Linked DNA regions of Homo sapiens: regions 2 and 3 are each linked to region 1. Evidence: promoter capture Hi-C in 16 types of primary human blood cells and fetal thymus (Javierre and others, 2016). All regions are on one chromosome and are shown on one strand. Each heading gives the region's core, a stretch centred on a gene start or on the middle of the fragment in contact. The rest is flanking DNA. Distances are from core to core; before and after follow the strand shown.

Evidence for each region. Contacts are between HindIII fragments. The CHiCAGO score rates a contact against its expected background, and 5 or more counts as called.
Region 2: a contact is called between the fragment with the promoter of VWCE here and the fragment with the promoter of TMEM132A in region 1, in 1 of 17 cell types (erythroblasts). The highest score is 5.2, in erythroblasts.
Region 3: the fragment with the promoter of TMEM216 here is called in contact with the fragment with the promoter of TMEM132A in region 1 in 7 of 17 cell types (neutrophils, non-activated CD4 T cells, activated CD4 T cells and 4 more); the score reaches 9.3 in neutrophils.

What each region holds. Positions count from the first base shown.
Region 1 is chr11:60,922,888-60,926,488 of GRCh38, reverse strand. It overlaps TMEM132A (transmembrane protein 132A), which reads right to left and starts at 2,029. Exons shown (of 11, transcript NM_178031.3): 1 at 1,756-2,029. The coding sequence starts at 1,855. TMEM109 (transmembrane protein 109) reads right to left here. Exons shown (of 4, transcript NM_024092.3): 4 at 3,046-3,601. LOC124902676 (a long non-coding RNA gene) reads left to right here and starts at 1,092. Exons shown (of 2, transcript XR_007062688.1): 1 at 1,092-1,270. RefSeq lists silencers at 1,384-1,453, 1,494-1,713, 1,774-2,133. The HindIII fragment of the contact is 2,439 bases long and covers 1-2,226 here.
Region 2 is chr11:61,293,519-61,297,078 of GRCh38, reverse strand. It overlaps VWCE (von Willebrand factor C and EGF domains), which reads left to right and starts at 1,763. Exons shown (of 20, transcript NM_152718.2): 1 at 1,763-2,151. The coding sequence starts at 2,042. RefSeq lists silencers at 1,684-1,753, 1,934-2,243, 2,684-2,943 and an enhancer at 2,010-2,712. The HindIII fragment of the contact is 23,922 bases long and covers 1-3,560 here.
Region 3 is chr11:61,389,788-61,393,836 of GRCh38, reverse strand. TMEM216 (transmembrane protein 216) reads right to left here and starts at 1,250. Exons shown (of 5, transcript NM_001173990.3): 1 at 1,172-1,250; 2 at 505-606. The coding sequence starts at 1,205. RefSeq lists an enhancer at 524-1,485. The HindIII fragment of the contact is 9,831 bases long and covers 1-2,297 here.

The DNA.
Region 1 (3,601 bases), core at 780-3,279:
ATAATTAGCATTTTGTGAATGCTATATGCAGGTGAGAATTTAAATACTGTATGTATATGAACTCTTTGAGTCTTTGTAATAATTCTGTGAACCAGGTTCTATTATGATGAATCCCATTTTGTGGATGTAGAAAATGAGGCCGAGAGGTTAAGGTATTTGCCTGTGGTTCCACAGCTGGAGAGTGAAGGAGCTGGGGGTTGATCCCAGGTATTAGCCACTAGACCATCCGGCGTCTCCACCTGCCACTTCTCTCTCCACTCTCCACTGCCACGGTGCACCCTGCAGGCTTCATGCCCTGGAGCGCACCTCCTCTCCTCTGCTCTGCCCGGTGGCACCTCCCTCCTCATTCAGGGCCATGAGTGAATACTGCCTCCTTCTGAAGGAAGCCCTCCTTGGTTACTCACCTTCCCACCAGTCTCCTGTCTTTTGCAACCCTGGGTGCCTCCTCTGAATTAGTAATCTTCCTATAAACAAGGGACCCTGTCTTGCTCATCCTGGAATTCCCCCAAACTAGGAAGCGCTCCCTAGAGAGGATTTCCTGGGAGCCTGGAGACCTGAATTTAAATTGATGAAACTTGGGTCAGGCATTAACATTTTGAAGCCTGTTTCCTCACTTGTAAAAGGGGCAGGAGCATTAGGTGGCACTGTGGACAGGACAGGGCTGTGTAAACTGTGGAGTGCTGTCTGGAGGGAGCAGGCATTATTGCTGCTGCATAATGGATTTGACAAGGTTTTCCTCCTCTCTCTATTAGGACTCCCATGGCGTCCCTCGGGATGGGGAGCAGGTGGCTGAAAGCAACCCCACAGCTAGCTCCCTCTCAGCCCCACAGCTGGACTGTGGGTGGGGGTGGGGGAATTGGTTTCAACCTCCTTCCTGGCCCTCCCCACCAAGGAGCATATGACTGACAGGCTCTCCCTGCCCCCTGCCCCAAGCGTAACAAGTGACCACTGCTCTCTGGGGGCAGCCACTGGCTTCAGGTTCGCCTCCTACTCCATTGCCTCCATAATTACAAGATGCTCTTAGCCTGACTCCCACGGACTCCCATCACCCAGCGCTCGGCTCTCTCGGTGGGGAGGGCAGAGAATGTTTCACTGTCCCTCTGTCTTCTGTGGCATCCTTTGCCTTGCAGCCACAGCCCAGCTAGCCCAGGCCAAGGGAGTCCGACCCCCACCCCGAAGCACAGGGAAGTTGCTGCCCTTTCCCGCAGTGACAGGAATCCTCTCAAAGGTTCTGGAAGGCAAGGATGCGGCCATCCCTGGAGACGCCAAGGTCAGGGAGCCCTGGGGGAAGGGGGAGGGAGGGCTTGCGTCTGTTGCAGGTCCCAGGCAAAGGGGCTGCTTTCCACTCCCGAGGGGGGTGGGTTGGTGGCGGCGGAAGGAGGCTAGGAGGGTGCAGCGCTACAGACCACAGTGAGGGAGTGGGGATGACGCTAGTGCGCCCGGGACCGGGGCCGCCGGGTTCGATGCCCGGGCTGAGGGGTCCCTCGCAGAAGGTGCGGGACGGGGAAGCCCCTGCGCCGGGCTGCCCCGGGTCAGGAAGGAGTTGCCGGGTCGTGCAAGGTGAAGGAAGCCTTAGGGGCGAGTGGCTGGGGGCAGGTTCCCGAGGGCAAGAACTCTCCGACCTTCAGGGCGCTGCGGGGCGACCCCGCTCAGGGTTCAGTCCGAGAACCCAAAGGTTGGTGGCTCCCGGGCATCACTCGCTCCCACTCGGCCGGGCCCGGCCGCCCCTCGCCCCGGCCCTCCCCTCCCGCTGACCTCTCACGACGTCCAGGGCGAGGGCCACCAGGAGGCAGAGCCAGGGGCCGTAGGGCCCCCGAGGGGCCGCTGTTGTGCGACCGGCCATCCGCGCGCACATCCTTCCCACAGAAGGCGGGGACGAGGCGGGCGGCTCAGGTGGCCCCAGTCCCGCACGGCATCTCCCGCACCCGCTCCGCGCCGTCCCCACCTGGCCCGCTGGGTCCCGGCCGCCGCCGCCGCCGCCGCCGCCCGCCCCGCGGCTGCAATTCCCAGACAATGGAGCGGGAGCAGTGGGGTGGGAGGGAGCGAATCGCAGCACATGGGCTGCCCCCTCCGCCCCGCCGGGTCCTAGTGCCCTACGGATCCCCAATCCCTGCGCGCTCAGGCGACCGAGGTCGGGAAGAGGGCCACGTCCCTGGAAGCAACAGAGGACGGCCGCCTCTGCCAGGAGGGACTCGGTGAGTTCTGTGTGGCTCCCTCACGGAAGCTTCTGATCAGGGAAGAAAAAGCCACTTTCTCTGCCTCACCCACCCCCACAAGCAGCTCACTTGTGAAGGCATCTGACACCTGAGTCAGAACCAGAATTCAGGGACACATGGGACGGGAGCTGCAGGGACAGGAAAGGAGGGAGGGGGTCAAACGGGGCCAGATGCCAACCACCTGAGCCTGCCCTGACAGAGCTAGGCCACCGCCGTGGAGGAAGGGCTCTAGGTGCAGGCAGCTCTAGTCTCTTGACCAGCTCCACCTGGGCAGCGTCCTGCAGCGCTTAGGAGGGTTGAGGGTTGCCCAACACTCCCGAGGGAAGGCCAGCCTCAAGGGTCCTGACCCAGTGTTGCCTACCAGGCAGTTTGGGGAGAGGCCCAGAGCAGGGGCCCCAGCTGCACACTCTCATGCCCTGGGCAGCTTACAAAGAAAAAATTATGTCTGAGGCCCTCCGCAAAATTGGTCCAGCCTGTGGGCCGACTGGAAACCTTGGCACAGGAAAGTCCTCAGGTGGGTGGTGAAGGGGAGGGCAGGCAAGTCTTCTCCAGGCTGCCCACCCACCTCAGCACACTGCAGGGAAGGGGTGACCCCTCTGCCCAGCAAGCACACGCATTTCCAGCAGTGCCAGTCGTTCCTACGTTTTGTAATGGGGGCATGCTTTCCTAATTCCTTGTGCTCCTGGAGGGAAGGGTACCTGGTACCAGCCTGCCTTTTCAGCTCTCCCCTCTGCCAGCTTCACACTGCCCCCACAGGGAGAAATTGGGAGGCGGAGCTGCACTACAGAAATGGGTTTAGCAGTAGAGGAGACATGGAAGCAATCCAGACTTGGAGTAAATACATTTTATTCAGAACAAGATAATAAAATAGCGTGCACTTTATTTAAAACCAACCAAGCACTGATAAAAAATATATATCACTGCAGCTGTGATTCCACATCAAACCTGAACAGTAAGAATTGGGCATTTATTCTTCACATCATGTGCCAAGCCTGGCAGAGAAGGACATCCACCTCCACTAGAGCCTCAAAGGAAAAGTGGCCCCTAACCACCAAGACAGGGTACCCTGGTGGAGAGGGGCAGCTGGCAGCTCACCCTGCTCTCTGCAGACCACGTGAAGGGAAAGGAGCTGCCTGTGTTCCTCCCGGGCTGCCGGGGTGGGCACTGGTCAGCAACTCCTTCTCGGTTTCAGGTTGTGGAGCGATGGGGAGAGAAGTGCATGCAGTTGTGCAGACAAGGAGGCGGGTCCTCCCTCCTCTTTCAGGGTCTCTGAAACCCCCACAGGGCATATAATGCCCAGCAAGGTCCCACTTGCAGGCACATGCCTACAAAGCAGCAGCCATCTTTTGCTTTGGCTGATGGGGAATCAAGATTCTGAGAGTGAC
Region 2 (3,560 bases), core at 514-3,013, 370 kb before region 1:
CCAAAACAAACAAGGTGAGATACGGCCTCAAGGTGAATGTCTGCAAAAATGTAGCCACAAGCCGGGTGCGGTGGCTCACGCCTGTAATCCCAGCACTTTGGGAGGCTGACGTGGGTGGATCATTTGAGGTCAGGAGTTCAAGACCAGCCTGGTCAACATGGTGAAACCCCGTCCCTACTAAAAATACAAAAATTACCTGGGCATGGTGATGTGCGCCTGTAGTCCCAGCTACTCGGGAGGCTGAGGAAGGGGAATTGCTTGAACCCGGGAGATGGAGGTTGCAGTGAGCCGAAATCGTGCCACTGCATTCCAGCCTGGGCGACAGAGAAAGACTCCATCTAAAAAAAAAAAAAAAAAAATGGGGCCACACAGCTTCAGGTAGGGAGACCACTTGGCAGCTTGTGTTTAAATAACATAAAAGCACAACAAAAAATGCCTGCTTTTTTTCGTTCTTTTTTTTTTTTGAGATGGAGCCTTGCTCTGTCGCCCAGGCTGGAGTGCAATGGTGCAATCTTGGCTCACTGCAACCTCTGCCTCCTGGGTTCAAGTGATTCTCCTGCCTCAACCTGAGTAGCTGGGAATACAGGCGCCCGCCACCATGCCCAGCTAATTTTTGTATTTTTAGTAGAGATGGGGCGTCACCATATTGGCTAGGCTGGTTCTGGAACTCCTGACCTCAGGTGATCCGCCCACCTCAGCCTCCCAAAGTGCTGGGATTACAGGTGTGAGCCACCGCGCCCGGCCACCTGTGGTTTTTCTTTACTGCAAACTCAATGTGTCATAATTAACATCATGGGGTTGCCAAAAACGTAATATTAGGGTGCATTAGTAAAAGTATGGTGTCTGCAGGAAGGAGGCACGAGTCCAGGCCACCGCTGGTACGCCATGTCCATTTGTGGCCACCAATGTTAAGCACCTCAGTAAAGGCAGAGGTAGCAGGAAGGCCAAAGGAACAGGGATTGTTCAACTGGGAAGTGAAGACACTTTAAAACAAATGTGGTTCAAAACTGGATTGGGCCGCTTCTTAACAGATAGTGAGTTTCTTACCCCTGGAAGTATTTAAGCAAAATCTTGACTAATTGTGGGTGGCTAAGGGAAAGATTACTGCATGGAGCAGAAGGTAAAATCAGTTATCCTTTCAGCTTTCTCCCAGCGGGATGATTTTGATTTCCGCACCCCTTCTTTGCCTAAATCCCTAGGCAGCCCCCCAGTCTCTGACCACGGCCTGGGGCAGCTGCAGAAGGGGCAAAGAGGAGCCTTCCAGATCTGCTGCTGCCTCTCCACTGCCAACGGCGCCAGCTGCTTCCTGGTCTTGCCACCAGCAGTCGGGAGGCCGGCCATCTGCCCCCTGGGTGCCCAGAGGAGCCCGGGGCTTCAAAAGTGGCTAGGGCCCCAGGCCAGGGAGCGGTTGGACCCACAGATCAACGCACTCCGGCGTTAGGGTGCAGACCTTCTGGCAGGCTGGGGGCAGGCCTAGAACTGCTCAGCGGCACAGCGACCTGGCGTCGTGGGTTCGAATTTCCACGGTTCCCACCTCGTCACAACAAGGCGTCTCGGGTCCCACCGACAGGGGCCATGCCCGGGGCGCGCAGCCTCTGGTGCTAGCCTTGTTCCCGAAGTCTGTTTCCTCCCGGGGCCTCGGTCTGACGCCTTCAGTCAGCGCTTCGCAGGAAGCCGACTCCCAAACCGGGGCAGGGGGTGTGGGCCGAGGGCGAAACCCCGCCCCCAGGGGTCCCTGATCTTTGCCCCCGCCCCGGGCTCCGCGCCTCTCGGAGAGGCATCAGCAGGCGGGCGGCGTTGCCTTTGTGTGTTTCGCTTCGAGGTGCCAGAGACCCTCCCCACAATCGTCCGCCGCGTCCCCTCGCGGCCCTCGGCCCCTCCTCTCGGCGTCCCAAGCCCCCCTGCTCAGCTCTGCGTGCCATTTCGGGGATCGCTGGTTCGCTCCCCACGGCGCCAGGAGGAGGGGCGAGGGCCGGCAGCCCCCTCTCCCGCGCGCGGCGCAGGAGCCGAGCCCAGCCCGGGGGACCCGCCGCCGCCGGTCATGTGGGCCGGACTGCTCCTTCGGGCCGCCTGTGTCGCGCTCCTGCTGCCGGGGGCACCAGCCCGAGGCTACACCGGGAGGAAGCCGCCCGGGCACTTCGCGGCCGAGAGGTAAGCGCCCGGAGCTCCTCCCCGCTCCCCCGCCCGGGAGAGCGCTACCGGCGTGCAGTCGAGAGGCGCGGAGGGGCGCTCAGGAGCCGCAGGCAGCCGCGTGTCGGGGCTTCCTCTGGGGTGCTATCAGCGCGGGCACAGCTCGGGGACGGCACAAAGAGTCAGCAACTTGTGCCTCTAGGCGGGTGCTCATCGTGCCCCCCTGGCTGGGGCTGTCCAGACTGGGACCTGGGAGATCGGAGGTCCAGGCGTTGGGTGACTCCTAATGTGCCCTGGAGCGCGGACCTCTGGAGAGGGGAGCCCAGGACGTGCCATCTGGTCTCCGGACTGGCTGGCTCACCCCCCAGCGTGCCCGTGGCTCTGCCCGGGCAGCGCCTGGCCTCCCCTGCCGCGCGGGGCTTTCCCTGGGTCTTGGCCCTACGAACTTCATGGACCTTGGAACAGCCGGGGTCTCTGGGTCACTTTTCGTTTTCTGTCCGTGCGTGTGCGCGCGTGGGGGTGGGGTGCATGCCCCTCCGCTGTCTTTCGCGATGGATGCCGCCCTCCGCACGTGCTTTCCCCCGGGCCGCGGTGGGGCCGTGCGCGTGTGTGCGTGATGCTCGGAGCTAGGGAACACTGTGTCAGCAGGCGGCCTGGCCCGCGGCCACGTCCTCCGGGGGGCGCGCAGCGGGGGCGGCCCGGCCAGGCTTGTAGCTCACACGTGTGTTCCACAGCCACCGCCAGTTCCTGCTCAGAACCTGCCCCGACTCCCCGGCGTTCCACAGGCTCCCACCACCTGTCCCTCTGTCACCAGCCCTAGGAGGCTCCTTAGGGCGCTCTGGCGGGTGCTCGGTCCCTGCCCACCTGAGAGTTCGACTCCATCAGCCTCCCTGGGCACCCTTTTATCTGCCGCCTTGGTGGCACTGCCTGTCCGTTTCTGAGAGTCCCAAGGCTCCGCTCATTCGCCCGGTCCCCTCCTTCTCAGGCTGCTGCCATAATCACTCCAGCAAGGGGGTGGATGAGACTTCACTGCCAGCTCCCGCCAGCAGGAGGGCCCCCCCTTTCTTCTGTGATGACCTCAGAGAGGGAAAAAGGCCCCAGGGACAGCTTTCCTCAGACTTTTGTGTGCTGCCATTGCACCCTGAGCTTCCCTTTCCGGAATACTTGTCACATTTTGGCACAGATTTTTCTCCCCAAGAACACGCTAAGTTTGCCTTGTCCCATGTCCCCAGTGCCCAGCGCAGAGTGGGTGCTTTACAAAGTGCCTGCCTCGCAGAATCATCTTCCCTCCGCTCTGAACATTGGTGGAACACCATTGGGAAGGGGTTTCTTGTCCCTTTTCTGTTGCGGTGGGGTTGGAAGCTCAAACCAGGCTGGATTTCATCACCCTCTGTCCAGTCCATGACTGGAGCTGGTTGCAGTTGTCCTCT
Region 3 (4,049 bases), core at 1-2,500, 470 kb before region 1:
ACAAGAACTGCCACACACTTGGGAAAAAAGAGGACATCAGTCTCAGCTTTCCATGAACTAGTTAGTGAGATGTGGGCATTATTACAGCAGCAGGATACATAAACTCACAATGCGACTCAGGCTCATTATTATGGTGTTTTACTCCTAACTCCAAAAGTCTCTGGGGACTCCACTCTCCAAAATGATTGGATGTACATGGGTACACAGGCCACTGAATAGTTTCTAAGGGTCACCAGTGGGCTTACAGTGGAGCTCAGCAAAGAGCAGTGATGTGGGCAGAGTCAGAATGGAGAAGCCCACATTTCTCAAACTCAAGAAATTCTTGCTGAGGGGCTGCCTATGGAATCATACTCAAAGAAGCCATCTGATGAGGAGGCCTGCCTTGCAGCGACAAAGAACTGCAGGGGGCAGAAAAGAACGGAAAATAAGAAGGTTCTTGGTAGGAATTGGCTCTGAGCTGAAGTGGGGAAGGGATGCTGTCGTCAAGCCCCAAGCCTTCCTTACCTTTATACAGAAATATGAAAAGTTCCAGCAGGAAATAGGTAGCATTATACCACCCGTTCAGAAAGAACAGGATTTCCAGCGGGGTGGAGGACAACCGTTTACCTGAAAAAGGAGCACAGAGAAGTGGGATGGGCCGGAAGGCAGCTCCCTCTCTGCTCGTATGGGTTGGTGTCTAACTTTGGGGAAACTAGACGCTGCAACTAATGGGACCGGCCACTCAGGGGCACTTCTGGTTGCTGATAATGAGGGGGCGAGGGTACGGGGGTGGGAGTGGAGGGGGCTTCCCTCCTTTCCTAGGAATCACCGTGAAACTCGACTCTTCGGCTTCAGGAATAAAAGTCAAGAGGTAACTCGCAGCTGACAGACATCTCAAAGATCTCACTCTGTCACTATTTGGGAGGGGAAGTTGGGGCGCAGAGACCAACAGATTCGCACCTGAGCCAGCCTAGAAGTGGCCCAGCCAAGGATCTGCGTTTATTTGAGCTGTGCACCTTGAGACCTTCAGGCACCCAGGGTGGGCGGGACCGCGGAAGCCGGCTTTGGACCAGGGAGGCGCGACGTCCCTAACGCTAGAGAATGGAGGGTTTAGGTCAAGCTCTGGGACAGAGGTGGGAGGGAGCGACCGAAGGGAAAGGGACCAGCGACTCACACACCTCCGGAATCTCACCTCGCGGCGCCATCTTCAGTCCCCGTGGCAGCATACGCTGCCACAGCGGCTCCCGGAGCAGCGCGGCGCTGCCGGAAACAGGGACGAAGCGGCCTGGGTTTCCGGCCCCTCTGCCCGCCCGCGGCACTCTGTGGTCACCCGGAGCTGGACGAGCTCGGGCCTGGCCGCAAGTGGCCCTCGCTCGGATGTCCCCTCTCCAGACCTAAGGGATAACGGTGACCACCCACGACGCCGTCGTCTGCAGGACCTCAGGGGTGCGGGGGAGGACCTTGGAGGCTCTCAGACTACCGGGCGTTGGGCGGAAGTGGCCAGTTGTGATAGTGTTACCAGGAGATTGGCAAATAGGTCCTACTCCCACGATTCTCTTTTTTCAACGGAAGACAAGAAAAGGTGTGAGCGACGGATCTCTGCAAATGCAGGGTGGAGTTAGCATTGGTCTTTTCTGCGGCCGATTTACCTACCAGGTAGAGACACGAAGGAAATAGAGCGTCCTTTCCAGGAACACACATAAATAAAATGAAACGAGTCACCACGCGATCCATAAAGTGGTGCAGTGGGAGCTGAGAGGACAAAGTGCTCCCAGGTGGAAATCTAAGTTAGTTTCCAAGAGACGGCCTGTGAGCTGGGCTTCAAAGCCTGCCTGATCCGGATTTGCAGCGGTAAAAGCGTGTTGCTGGCCGGGCTTAGTGGCTCACGCCTGTAATCCCAGCACTTTGGGAGGCCGAGGTGATGGATCACCTGAGGTCAGGAGTTCGAAATCAGCCTGGCCAACATGGCGAAACCCCGTCTCTACTAAAAATACAAAAATTAGCCGGGCGTACTGGCGCGCGCCAGTAGTTACAGCTACTTGGGAGGCTGAGGTAGGAGAATCGCTCGAACCCGGGAGGCGGAGGTTGCAGTGAGCTGAGATCGCGCCACCGCACTCCAGCCTGGGCGACAGTGAGACTCTGTCTCAAAAAAAAAAAAAAACAGAAAACTGTGTTGCTGCAGGCAGGGGAGTGCAAAAAGAAGGGTTTTGAGAGGACTCAGGTTGACTTGACTTGGCTGTTAGCCCGTTGTCAATCAGGGTAAAGCAGGAAACAGATGGCACGCTCCAACCAGGTAGCCTGAGGAAGGTGACTAAGCTTTATTTTATTTATTTCATTTTATTTTTGAGACGGAGTTTTGCTCTTGTAACCCAGGCTGGAGTGCAATGGCGCTATCTCTGGTCACTGCAACCTCCGCCTCCTGGGTTCAAGCGATTCTCCAGTCTCAGCCTCCCAAGTAGCGGGGATTACAGGTGCCCCCCACCACACCCGGCTAAATATTTTTGCATTTTTAGTAGAGACGGGGTTTCACCATGTTGGCCAGGCTGGTCTGGAACTCCTGACCTCAGGTGACCCGCCCCCCCCCCCCCCCCCCCCCCCCCCCCCCGCCTCCCAAAGTGCTGGGATTACAGGTGTGATTAATGCCCCCGGCCAAGAGTGACTAAGCTTTAAGCAAAGTGCTGTACCCCTGGCTAATTGGGATGTGGTGGGGCGGTAATTGTTACTTCTAGGCTTAAAAGGGAAGGGCCTGAAACAATTCCCTGAAGCTGGAGAGTAATATGTGCATAGAAGGCCTCCCACTAGGAACCCTCACACTCTAGGAGGCTAGTGGATAAATATAGCAGGGACCTCCATTTCCCTTCTCCCATCTCTGATCTCTGCTTATGTCTCCCGCTGACACAACTTAACTGCAAGCTGGAGGGCAAGGAAGCCCTTTAGGGTAAGTAGGAAAGCGCAGAGCACAGAGGTTAAGGTGGAAAGGAATCCAGATCCTGCTTCCCCATCTTCGCTGCCTGCAAGACAAGAGACATTAGAAAAGTTCCTGCTCTGAGCCTGATATGGAAAGAAAGTGGGCCAGCTGCACCTGGCGCGGTGGCTCACACCTGTAATCCCAGCACTTTGGGAGGCTGAGGCGGGTGGATCACTTGAGGTCAGGAATTCAAGACCAGCCTGACCAACATGGTGAAACCCCATCTCTACTAAAAATACAAAATTAGCCGGGCATGATGGCACATGCCTCTAATCCCAGCTACTTGGGGGGCTGAGGCATAAGAATCGCTTGAACCTGGGAGGCGGAGGTTGCAGTGAGCTGAGACCAAGCCATTGCACTCCAGCCTGGGCAACAAGAGTGAAACTATGTCTCAAAAGAAAAACAAAGAAAGTGGGCCAGCTGCTTGTTTTTGTAAATAAAAGTTCTTTGGAGAACGTCATCATGGTCACTTACTTACATGTTATTATATATTGCAGCTTTCATGCTATTATGGCAATGTTAAGTAGTTGCAACAGAGACCACATGGCCCACAGCCTTAAATACCATCTGACCCTTTAAGAAAAAGTTGGCTAATCTATGTCAGAGTATGCCACAACTTCATAGATGCCAAAAGCTGACAGTGAGGCCAAATTACTTATGGCAAACAGCAGGAACATCAGCATGGCAACCTGGGGGCCCCCTGCTCCCAAGTCCTATGAGTGACACAATGACCCCAGATGGTGCTGCACTCAAGGAGTTATGCCACAGCTTGGTGGAGCCCAGAGCCAAAGGCTCAGTACCCTTTTTAGCAAGCAGCAAATAAAGCCAGGCCCTTTCCACTGGGGAGGGAGAAATTATACTATCATCACACTATAGTCACTTTGGTCTACTTAATTGCTTCTGTGCTCAGTATCAGGAGACAGACTTTCTGGTTTGACATAGTAAGAACATGCAGGGATGCTTAGGACCCATGCAAGACTGTCCCAACAGCCAGTGCCCTTGCTAAATTGATTATTTCTAGGAGGCTTGTTATGTACATGATCACATCATCAGTAAATAAAGACATTTTTACTTCCTTCTCAATCTCTATACCTTCAATTTC